Regions from separate parts of the Homo sapiens genome. Here regions 2 and 3 are each linked to region 1. Evidence: promoter capture Hi-C in 16 types of primary human blood cells and fetal thymus (Javierre and others, 2016). All regions are on one chromosome and are shown on one strand. Each heading gives the region's core, a stretch centred on a gene start or on the middle of the fragment in contact. The rest is flanking DNA. Distances are from core to core; before and after follow the strand shown. Region 1 holds the start of NDRG1 (N-myc downstream regulated 1). Region 2 overlaps TG (thyroglobulin). Region 3 overlaps PHF20L1 (PHD finger protein 20 like 1).

Evidence for each region. Contacts are between HindIII fragments. The CHiCAGO score rates a contact against its expected background, and 5 or more counts as called.
Region 2: a fragment that was not itself captured here is called in contact with the fragment with the promoter of NDRG1 in region 1 in 1 of 17 cell types (monocytes); the score reaches 5.1 in monocytes.
Region 3: a contact is called between a fragment that was not itself captured here and the fragment with the promoter of NDRG1 in region 1, in 2 of 17 cell types (activated CD4 T cells and naive CD4 T cells). The highest score is 5.4, in activated CD4 T cells.

The regions. Positions count from the first base shown.
Region 1 is chr8:133,294,979-133,298,764 of GRCh38, forward strand. NDRG1 (N-myc downstream regulated 1) reads right to left here and starts at 2,274. Exons shown (of 16, transcript NM_006096.4): 1 at 2,156-2,274. RefSeq lists a silencer at 2,155-2,604. The HindIII fragment of the contact is 9,218 bases long and covers 1-3,786 here.
Region 2 is chr8:132,893,103-132,897,177 of GRCh38, forward strand. It overlaps TG (thyroglobulin), which reads left to right. Exons shown (of 48, transcript NM_003235.5): 11 at 588-827. Among named protein-coding and RNA genes, the nearest start is that of TG, 28 kb to the left of the region's middle. The HindIII fragment of the contact is 3,176 bases long and covers 1,156-4,075 here.
Region 3 is chr8:132,843,167-132,847,108 of GRCh38, forward strand. PHF20L1 (PHD finger protein 20 like 1) reads left to right here. Exons shown (of 21, transcript NM_016018.5): 20 at 990-1,152; 21 at 2,615-3,942. The coding sequence ends at 2,757. Among named protein-coding and RNA genes, the nearest start is that of TG, 22 kb to the right of the region's middle. RefSeq lists a silencer at 1-114. The HindIII fragment of the contact is 777 bases long and covers 1,455-2,231 here.

The DNA of each region.
Region 1 (3,786 bases), core at 1,024-3,523:
TCCCCATCCCTGTGCCTCATTTTCCATCTGTAAAATGGAAAGAAGTTGGACTAGGTAGGTCCTGTGTGAGTTTTTTATTCCATTCCAAATGATCAAACTTTGTTGCTCCAAAAGAACTTCCTCACAAGAGACCCAAACAGACACTCCAGGATCCCTCAAAAGCAAAAGCCAACACCTCCACCCATGCACAGTCTATTACCTCGCCCGAAACTCAACCTGCTGGTTCACAGGAGAATGGGGCAGAAGACCCAGAGCCATCCACTTCATCCCATGTGCATATTTCAACTCCTCCCACCTGCCAGGCGCTGGGCCAGGGGCCAGGTTACAGGGCAGGGCAGGCAAATCCTCCTCCTTGCCCAGATGCAGTGGGAGACACGGTCCCACAAAGCTAAGAAGTCACAGGTCAGGGGAACACCCAGTTTTCCATCCACACCAAAACCCTCTCTCTCCCTTACACCTTCCTTCATCCCCGACACTGTGCCACCCCAGCCTGGGGCTGGCTCTGCCGCCACACACACCACACAGAACCGGTCTGCGTCTCCAGCCGTGTGTCTTCCCCACCAGAAGGCAGCCCTTCCAAGAAAGGCGCTGGGGTTTGCCCCCTCTGTACCTTGCTTATTTCAATCACATTTGTGAAACTCAATAAGAACGCCAGAATTTCTCAACAGGAAGAGTCTAGACTGAAAAATTCGCCTTGAAACTACATTTCTGCAGCAAGAACAGGGGGTTTGTATTTAGATATGTTCTTTTGAGGCAGCTTAGGAGAAGGTCCCGTGCAGCTGATGGGTATTATAAGGATGTCTACCGCCCTCCTGCCTGGCCACTGGCTGACTTCTGAATATTAGATATTTCCCAGTAGCTTAAAGAAACCAAACAAACTGAAGTGCCCCCAGCGTCCGTGAGGAAGGGGTGTTCTTGGATGGGCATAAGATAACCAAGGGCCCTGCCTCCCCCACCCACTGCCAGGCATCTCCCACTTCCAAGCCACAGAGGCGTGCTGTTCAGGACCCCCAGGGACAGCAGGGACAACAGGCGGGGGATATGGGGGAGGGGTGGGTAAGGAACCGACCCACTAAATCCCAGCTCCAGCTACTAATTTGACAGAGGCGTGACAGCGTGTTTCCCCCAGAACCAGCCGCATTCCCCAAGCCCAGCCCGAAATCTCCTCCCGAGGCTGAATCAGAGACCGCGGCGGATCCCCCAGGAACGTCGAAGTAATTCCAGCTGTTTTCCCCCGTGGAGGGCAGGAGCGGCCAGCACCAGAGGCAGGGGAGGGGAGGAAAGCGGGGGAGGGTGGGCGGAGGCGAAAATGACGCCACTCCTAGCTCCAGCCAGCTCAAGGGGCCGCCAAATGTCCGCGAGACCCCTCTCGCCCAGGTCACTTCTCCCACGCCGCCGATGCGCCAATCCCGGGTTCCTCCGGGGGCGCACCCTGCCCAGTGGCGCTCGCAGACACTTGCTCCGGCTCGCGTGTTGCACTGTGACACACCCTGGACCCTCCCCCCACACACACGCTTACACTCACACATGCACACCGCCCTGTGTGTGCTACGGGACTGAAGCGCCACCAGCCTCTCGGATCCACACCCGTTCCCGACCCAGTCTGCAAGCCAGACACACCCACGCCCCCCTCTCCAGCCTCCTTGCCAGCGCCACTCACCTCTACCAACCCCTCATCTACACACTCGCGCGCAATCTCTCCGTTCCCAGACACAGACACACACACACACACACACACACACACACACACACACTCACCTAGTCCCTTCTGCACCCACGTCCAGCGCGCACCCCTGCCAGCGGCGCCAGCTGGGATTCGGAGACGACGCCAGGAAACGCTATCCTGGTATTTTTTCGGACCGTCTCATCGCCCCCTTCCCGACCTCCAGAACCCCAATCCCCAGCTAGGGGGGAGATGAATGGGACCCTGTCTTTTTTTCCTCCCTTTCCGTAATTGAACCCCCCACTTCAGCGGTGTCTGCACCCAAAGCCCCCTCGCGCCCGCGCCCCGGGGTGACCGCGCACTTGCAGCTCCGGGGCGCTTACTCCTGGAGTACGCGGGGCTACAAAGGGCGGTCCTGGCGCTCCAGCGGCACCGCACGGGCGGCCCCTTTCTGCTCCGCGTCGCGCCTGGGAGAAGAGGGCGCGGGCTTACCTAACGCGAGGGAGAAAGGAAAGGACGGTGCCGAGGCTGGCGGCCCAGCGCCCCGCGGAAGCCGAGGGCGGATGGTGAACTGACGAGCTTCAGCACCAGCTGGGAGCCAGGCGAGGTTTGTTTACGTCCGGGCGGAGGGCGACTTTATAGGCGCCGCGGCCCCGCCCCCGCGCCTCGCCCCTCCCAGACCCTCGCAGTCCCAGCACGCAGCCGGGACACACCCCTTCCCCGCTCCCTGCTCCCTCCTCCCGGGCGCGCCGGGCTGGGCTGGGCTCCGGCAGCGCGCGGCGGGCGCCCACTGGAGCCGCCGCCTGTTGCGCAAGCAGTCGTAGGGGCGCGGCCGGGAGGGGCATCGGGGCCCGGGTTGTGGGTCGGCTCTGCAGTCCCCTCCGAGTCCAGGGCCTCGGCCTGTGCAGCGGGCGCGTGTGCCCTGCCCGGAGGAGGCGTTTGTGTGCTTGTGCGTGTTCATGTGCGCGCTCGTGCGTGTGCATGTGGACTTCCTTGTGTCTCCGTATGGGCGGAGGCCCCCCATCTCTGCCTCAGAGTTTCTTCTAAGAGTCTCGTTGCGCCACGCCCTGAGCGACTCCCTTCACTTCCTGTAGGTCTCACCAGCTCGGCTCTCCAGCCGGATTCGGCTGCCTGCCCAGCAGCCGCCTTCGCTTTCGCCCGACAGGCTCCCTCCGATTCTCAGCCTTCCGTGTCGCCAAAGCTCTCGCTGAAATCCTCGCTCCCGTTTAATCTCGTCCATCTTGCCCACCGCCGCCCAGCGCTTACCCTTCCCCTCATCTTCCCAGTTCTAAGCACACTCACTGGACCTTGCCCACTGGGCTCTTCTCTCCTGCCCCACAAGCCCAGATGAGAGGATTCTCACCCCTTCCTATTCTGATTTCCTGAACTTTCATGACTCACCCTTTCCAACCTTAGCACCGTCCTGCTCTGCTGCTCTGTTTGTGCGTAACTATTGGCCTGCATGTTCCCATCTGGCCAAAGAAACCAGCAATTCTCAACCCCTACTGCATATGAGAAGTCCCAGAGGAGCCGCCAAATTAAAAAATAAATAAATAGATAGATAATAAAAAGAGAGAGATGGACTCCAGAACAGTTTAATCAGAATCTCAGGGGGTGCAAACCAACTGGGCATTGGGGTTTTTACAAAGCTACCCAGGTGGCTCCTGACGTGCAGCCAGGTTGAGAAGCACTGCATGGAGGAACATGATTTTATGAATAAAGGAAGTCTGACTCACAGCTGGCACCGTCATTGTCCTCAGGCCACCTGCCCAGCGTTGAATTTGCCACTGAGCCCAGGACCAGACCCAGGGCAAGCTCAGGTGACCCTCCCTGCGCCTCCACAGACACACACGCGCGCACGCACAACACTTCCTGCTGAATTGTAAACCTCTTTTCTGTGCCAACCCATGCTGTCCCCAAGGCAGGGGCCATGGCTTTCCCCTCTGATTATTAGGGCCAGTTTTGGAGAAGGGTTTTCTGGAACAAAAGAAATATGGAGAGGGGCAAACAGCACCTCTAGGACCCAGGACATCTGTGTTTCAGGCCTGTCTTTGACACTATCGATCACAAATCAACAAATCTGGGCTTCAGAATTCTCACTGGCAAAGGGAGAGGATTAGATT
Region 2 (4,075 bases), core at 1,494-3,993, 400 kb before region 1:
TGTGTGTGGTATATGTGTGGAGGGTGTGTGTGTGGTGTGTATTTGTGTGTATGTGTGGTGAGTGTGGTGTGTGTGTGGTGTGTATGTGAGTGTGTGTGGTGTGTATGTGTGTGTGGTGTGTATATGTGGTGTGTGTGTATGTGTGTGGTGTGTATGTGTGTGGTGTCTGCGGGGGTGGTGTGTGTGTATGTGTACGTGTGGTGTATGTGATCTGTATGTGCATACTGTGTGTATGGTGTGTATAGGTGTGTGTGGTGTGTCTGTGGTGTATATGTGTGTAGTGTGGGGGGGTGGTGTGTATGTGTGTGGTGTGGTGTGTGTATGTGTGTGGTGTGTGGTGTGTATGTGTGTAGTATGGGGGGTGGTGTGTATGTGTGTGGTGTGGTGTGTGTGTGGTGTGTATCAGTGTGTGTGAGGGGGTGGTGTGTATGTGTGTGGTGTAGGGGGGTGGTGTGTATGTGTGTGGTGTGTGTGTGTGGTGTGTGTGTGGTGTGTATGTGTGTGCGTGAGGGCACACATGCTTCATGGGAGTCAGAGGGAAGTCCACGTGGTGAGTGAGTCCATCTGTGTTATTTTTATTCCCCTAGGTCCTGGCTCCTGTGAGGAAGCAAAGCTCCGTGTACTGCAGTTCATTAGGGAAACGGAAGAGATTGTTTCAGCTTCCAACAGTTCTCGGTTCCCTCTGGGGGAGAGTTTCCTGGTGGCCAAGGGAATCCGGCTGAGGAATGAGGACCTCGGCCTTCCTCCGCTCTTCCCGCCCCGGGAGGCTTTCGCGGAGCAGTTTCTGCGTGGGAGTGATTACGCCATTCGCCTGGCGGCTCAGTCTAGTGAGTGTGGTGCCCTTCAGCTTTCTTACTGCATCGCTTTGGAAAAGCAGGAGCTTAAATTCGTCTCTCCTCAGTCATCCTTAGGACTTTGTGGTTTGGCTTCCCCAGACTGATGGGTTCTTGGGAAGGAAAAGGCAAAGTGGTTTGGGGGCACCAGTCAAAGCTGGAATGCTGCACGCATCTCTAAAATGCTCCTTAATTCTCCAGCGAATCTACCCTAGGGCAGGTTTCAGATGGCACCTGCCGCTCCCACAAAGCCAATATTCTTGTTAAAATGCGAGGGACCCAAGCCCGTGAATGCTCAAACACCCCTTACGGCCTGCTCCAAAGCTTCCCTCCATTTCCAGGGATTCAGGAACACCACACAGCAGGAGGGGAGAGGAAGCCTCGATATTAAGTAACTATGACACATTGATCTCATCTGATCCTGAGAGTAACTCCAAAAAGCAGGAATTACTACCTGCATGCGACAGAGGCATAAGCTCAGGGAGCCTGCAGTCCTCTGGTCTATAATAACAGCTGAACAGTATGCTTTTTTTTTTTTTTTGAGACGGAGTCTTGCTCTGTCACCCAGGCTGGGGTGCAGTGGCACAATCATAGCTCACCACAGCCTCGAACTCCTGGGCTCAAGCAATCCTCCCACCTCAGCCACCTGAGTAGCTGGGACTACAGGTGTGTGCCACCACATGCAGCTAATATTTGCACATTTTTAGTAGAAACAGGATTTCACCATGTTGGCCAGGCTGGTCTCGAACCCGTGACTTCAAGTGATCTGTCTGCCTCGGCCTCCCAAAGTGCCAGGATTACAGGCATGAGTCACAGCCCTTAACCAGCTAAACAATATTCTAACTTCACCTTTGAGCAGGCACTTACTGTGCTAAGTAGATTATCAGATCTTCACATTTAATCCTCTGACAGCTCCAGGAGAATGATGGTATAATCACCATCCACAATTCTTTGCAAATGGGGAAATGGAGTCTGAGGTTAAGTCACTTGCCCGAATTCACACAAGTGATAACCAGTGGGCCTGGATGGGAAGCCCAGAGACCTGGTCCTCCAGTTCATCTCTCCTGTTCCCTGCCAGGCAGATTCCAGGTATTGCTGAGGTCAGTGCCTAGCTCTGCCTCATCCTAGAGCCCTTGTTCTTCCTCCATAACCTCACAGCTGCTCTGGCAGGAGAACAGGTCCCTTCCAAGATTTCTCACTGACCCCACATCAACTTGACAAGGACAAATGATTAATCTGTCTTTGAATCTTACTCAGGATCCCCATCCCTGTCAAATGGTCTCAGCTGATTCCCTGTCTAGCTTTCTAGGCTTGAGTCACCAAACAGCAAGACAGTCCTCCCCTGACAACATCTGCTCCAAGTCAAAGAGAATCCCTCCAGCAGGAGGGCAGCTCCCTGCCTTCCCATCCACGCCAGCAGGCACTCCAGGGTGTCTATGGCCAGCGTGGGATTGGGTCTCAGTGATCTTTGTTCTCCTAATACCACGTGACAATCTCATGTGTGCCATCTTTGTTTCCTGCTTCTCTCTCACACCAGACATCTCTTTTGGAGAACAAGGCACTGTGTCTTATTCTTTCTATATCCCTGGTGCGTGGCACAGTGCCTGACACCTACAAGGAGCTGAGTAGCTGGTGGTTAACCATCCTTATTGCTTTCTTCCTCCCTTCTTTCTCTCTCTTCCGTCCACTACCCTCACCCTATGCCTAGGCACTGCTTTTCTCTGTTCCTCAGAGACTGGGAGACTTCTGCTTTTGGGAAGAACCATGTTGTTTTACATTTTTGTACAAAGACAGGATTTGAGGTAATCAAAGAGAGAAGTGGGATTGGTGCTCCTTCAGTTGTGACCACTTTGGTCAGGGAGGGAAATGTCGAGAAAGGGGAGGCAATGTTGCTGGTGCTGTTGAGATTAGTCATTGAATGGCATGTTGGCATTTTCTTCAGAAGTCGAGCTGAGAAGTTCCTCTCCAAGTAGCCACATGCTCCGCTTTGCATGTCTGAGCTTGTAGAGGAAAGAGGAAGGGACCATAGAGGACCAGGCCTGGTCTTTTCCCTGAGAGTCTGGGGATTGAGGGCCCAGAGCGAAGTGCCTTTGGCCACTAGAACATGGTAGCCATGTCTGAGGGCCTAATGAGCGTGGCGAAGGCCATGGGAGGAAATGCACACCGCTGTGTCTGGCAAGCACTTGGTGTTTAACACCTATCAGCTCCTTTGATGTAAATATCACAGTTGTCTTGTTAGGTGAGTGTTAGACCCATTCCATAGATGAGGAAACTGAAGCTCAGAGAGGTTGGGCAACTTGCTCATGATCACAGTTAGGAGGCGCAGTGCCGGGATTCAGAAGGAGGCCTGGCAGACTCCAGAACGCTGTCCACTGTATGGGGCTGCTTCAGAGGTCGGTCCTGGTGTCCCCAGATGGGCTCTGACTGTGAGTTGGTGGCATCCTTGTATCTGCAAGCTCTCTCGTCTGGAGCCATGAAGCCTGTTTCTGAAAGGTGGGGAGTGGGGAGAACTGTCCCAATGAACTGCAGGTGACTGCCAATGGTGCTGCCACAGATATTCCCGTTCTCCCTCCAGGATCCTGGTGAGGAGCCCCAACCTGCCCCAAGTGCCAGCAGGAGTGGAGAAAGAGCTCAGGCGACAGTTCATGGCCACTTAGGAGGAGGGTGGTGGTTGTGGCAAATCAGACTGGGCCTGGTAAGACCCACACCAAACTGATGTGTGTCCCACCCGCTGCCCACCCTTGCTTCTTCCTCTCCCCCTCATGCATTCATTCACGCTTTTTTCCCAATCGGTGATTTCTTGAGTGCCTACTATGAGCCAGACACTCCTCTACATGCAAAATAAACACAAATCTCTGCACCAAAGAGCTTAAATGCTAGTGCGGAGGAGACAAATCTAACACAATAAATGGGAACACTATGTACTATGTTGGTGGTGGGGAAAGCCATGTGCAAAGCCCAGTGGGTCGGGGACTGCAAGAGCTGAGGACAGATGCAGTTTCATTAGTGGGGTGGCCAGTGGTTCATCATATAACCTCCCTCGCTGAGCCTCTGTGTCCTCACCTGGGGTAAAAGTTCTGGCTTCATGGAGCTGCTGTGAAGATCTGATATGATTTTTGTGGATATCCAAGTTTCAAAGGGGTTAAAAACTAAACTGTAGGAGTTTGGTAGGGAAACCTACGAGGGCAGCTGATGTCAATCGCCCTCCTGTGTTCCAAGGCCAACCTCTCTTCTTTCTGTCT
Region 3 (3,942 bases), core at 593-3,092, 450 kb before region 1:
CAAAACGAAAATGTCAGTGTGTAAGAATGTGAAAGTACATATGGGTGTAATGATTTGTCTTCCTCTTTATGTGAGTTAGATAAAAGGTGGCACTCTAATTGTCTGTTTAAAAAATTTTAGCATGTTTGTCAATGCATCCCACTATTCAGTAAGGTGAATTCTGACAGATCTATGTGCATTGGACATCTATAAACTTATTTCCTGTTCACTGGGATTATCTTAGAAATGTACCTTTATTTTTTACTGATTTTCAATTAATGAGGCCACTTTAAAATTAGATGTTTTTTTTCTGCATTCCTTAACAAGTAATTACCATAAATAAGTACTTAAGTGAATTGGAACGTTTGTATTTCGTATCATAAAGTTTGTGGTAAGTTATTTTGTTTAATTAATATCCCATGTGCAAAATGAGTTATCTCTGGCAAATCCAAACGCACATTGTGTGTGTGTGTGTGTGTGTGTGTGTGTGTGTGAAGCAGTTTGTACTTTTGAAACTTGTAAAAGGTTTTTGCCTTTCCCTCCCTTCATTGATTTACTGTACTATAACAGTAAAGTCCAGTCTGTAGTTAATTAGATTTTATACTGGTCTTTGGAAACGCTCTTGATTTCTTTTCATCATTGCTTTCCACTCTTATGTCCACTTATATCACCAGCTGAGATTAATTGAGGAAGAGGCCAGTCTAAATTAATCAGGAATTCTAATTACACAATAGAATTAGTGACTTCATTTATTTAGCGCATTTTATTGAAGCCTTCTTGCCTGTGTAGCACCATGCGAGGCATAGTGGAGGGAGGTGGTGGGTGCATCAGCTCTTAAGAACCACCAGCTGGAATTTGGTTATGTAGCAGTACTTCTTTAAAGATACCCCTGGAGTCAGATTGGATCTCACTAACTGTTACCAGTGATGAGGTGTTTCCTGTATCCTTAACTCAATGACTGCATTTCATCCCGTTCTTTGTGTTTATTTTCCAATGGTCCTTTGGAGAAGAATCCAGCTGAAGGGAATACAGTATTTGTTTATAATGATAAAAAGGGCACCGAAGACCCAGGAGACTCACATCTTCAGTGGCAGCTCAATCTCCTTACACACATAGAAAATGTGCAGAACGAAGTTACCAGCAGGATGGACCTAATAGAAAAAGAAGTCGATGGTAATTTAAGAAAGAACTAAAATACAGTTACTATAGTGAATTTATTGTTACTATGAAGAAGTTACTTAAAATTCTTAAATTATGGGATGAAAACTGCAGATACTCTCCATACCGATGGGGCTTTATTACTCCCTTTGTATTGTATTTAACACATTTGGGATCTTTTACGCTTAAAACAATGTGACCGGGTATGACCTTAGGTTGTTTTTACTTTTTTAAGGTGGATATTTATTAAATACTGTCTATTTGCCAGGCTCCAGATAGATCACTTATGGAATAAATTGATTAGTTTCATTGAACTAAGCTTTCTTTGGAAGTCAACATAAGGAATTTAAGCATGTTTGAAATGTGAAAACATTTTGAATATTTTTTACTTTGGTTAGCACTTGTTAAATTAACAAAAACTTCTACAAAGTTAAGTAGGTAAACCTTAAGTGGTTTTCTTTTATATTTTAAAATTGTGTCATCACACAGGAGGCCTGAAAAGTGGGCAAGAAAGATACTATCACTACTTTATAGTTGAGAAACTAGAGTAACTTAGACTACCTGATTCTCAGTCCATGTTGTTCTTAATGCTTTCTGACTCCTGTTTCTTCCTAACATCATAGACGATATTCTGCACCCCAACTTTACTTTTTTTAATTTGGCATAAGCACGTGATACCTCTCCTCTACACTAAGTTAGAGCTCCTACTCCTTTTTTTCCCCCTTGAGAGAAGAAGAGAGAAAATGGAAACCCATTTTAGAAGCCTCTTCCATCTGGGTATAAGCTAACTGTAGAGTTAATGTGATGTTTTGAGTCCATGTTTGAAGAAAAGAAAATGCATCTTGATACTATTTCATATTATTAGGGTAGATTTCCAAAGGAAACATTAATAAAAACTATAGAATATAATCAATTGCATTCTGCCTACAATTTTAATACGCTTGCATGTCTTTTAAAAAGTAGTGTTAAAATAGTGGAACTGAAAAGAACACTGAGAAATTGCTACTTCCTTTTCTTTGTTAAGAAGAGCTTCTGGATTAAAAAATATGATTAGGTATGTTTTATGTAGAGATGACGAGTCTAAATTAATAGAAAGCTTGAGCAAACATAGGGAACTGTTGTTATCTTATTCCAGAAGTGAGTAAAAGGAGACCTTCAAAATGAAGTTAGTGTGTGTATATGTTTATGTGTGTGTGTATATGTATTTTCCCCCTTATATATAAAAATACATAATTCCTATATATATAAAGGGGAAAATTATCTTAAATGACAGATAAAAATTGCCAAGAGGGACTAGAACTCTGTGGGGTGGGATGACAGGACGCTAACCTCTCGGAAATGTCTTGAGTATGTTGGCCTTCTAAAGATGGGGAAGTGAACCCTTAACTCCATCACAGCTCCAACTTTCTGATTGTTTCATTTTCTGACTGTTCTTCCAGTTGCAGTTTAAATTTGTTTATCTTCTTCTCTCTTTTAGTTCTGGAAAGCTGGCTTGATTTCACAGGGGAGTTGGAGCCACCAGATCCTCTTGCAAGATTGCCCCAACTTAAACGCCACATAAAACAGCTCCTAATTGACATGGGCAAAGTACAGCAGATAGCAACTCTTTGCTCTGTATGACAACAGTGAACACTTAATGAAAGAATGTGGCTTTCTTCAGTCAAAGCATTTTTATTATCCACGTGATGGCTAAGTGGATAATTTAAAAGCTTAGTAATGTCTGGTCATTCACTGATTTGTGATGTCAATAGGATGGCACCTTGGAAAGAAAAATGAAGAACAACTTTATCAAGGAAGCTAGTATTTAAAAACAAATTCATGAGCAAGCTGCAAATGAGAATGTGTTATATGCCAAGGAACAATGAAGTAGAATATAATGTATACTAAGGGATTTCAAGTTCTCAGAATTTTTGAGTAGTTGCTTACGTGAAGCTCAAGATACCTGTAGAAAGAAATATGGTATATTTGTATAGTTTTTAATAGAAAGATCTATGTTTATAAACCAGCACTTGGCCAAAAACAAAATTGTAAAGGAAATTTAAATTCTGGAGAATTCTACAGGGTTGCTCTAAGAACTGTCTTCTCAGCAGTTGATCCAGCTGTACGGAAATTTAGGGTATTTAAACTTTTAAAGGATCATGAGCTGTTTCTTGGGCGATGAATGTTCTCAATCAGAAAACTGACAGTAGAAATCTCACTTCTGGGGAAAACAGTTGTGGAATTCTTACTTCATTATGAATGTATTTAAAAAACAAACACCAAATAATTGGAATATATTGCAGGCATTAAGCTCATTAAAAACAAACTGGCTTGCAGAAGGGTCCGATGTGCCAAGTGATCATGATTCTGCTGGAAAGAGGATTTTAAATATTGTGGGAGTTCTCCCACCCTAAGTCTTACATAATGCCACCAGTCCATCCAAAACCTATATATCACCTATACTATATATATCATATATATAGTTGAATGGCAGTATTCAGGCTCAACGTACAGTTTGATCCTGAGTATGCTTGGTGTTTGCCTTCAGAAAAAAAAAAATACATTGTAAATAACCTCAGCTGGGATGAGGAGTGACAGAATATCAAAATAATTTGTGGCTGTGGATTTTTTTAACTGCTAGTAGTGGAATACTGGAAAAGCTTCATTTCTGAAGATGAATTTTATTTTTAAAAAATACATGCACACTCAAAACTTTTAGCTTTGATCACAAGTGGACAAATTTCTGAAACCAAAGGCAACTAAGTTGCTGTGTTAGCTCTTGCTGGATTTTGAGCCTAGGTCCTACTGTCTGCCAGTACTCATGTG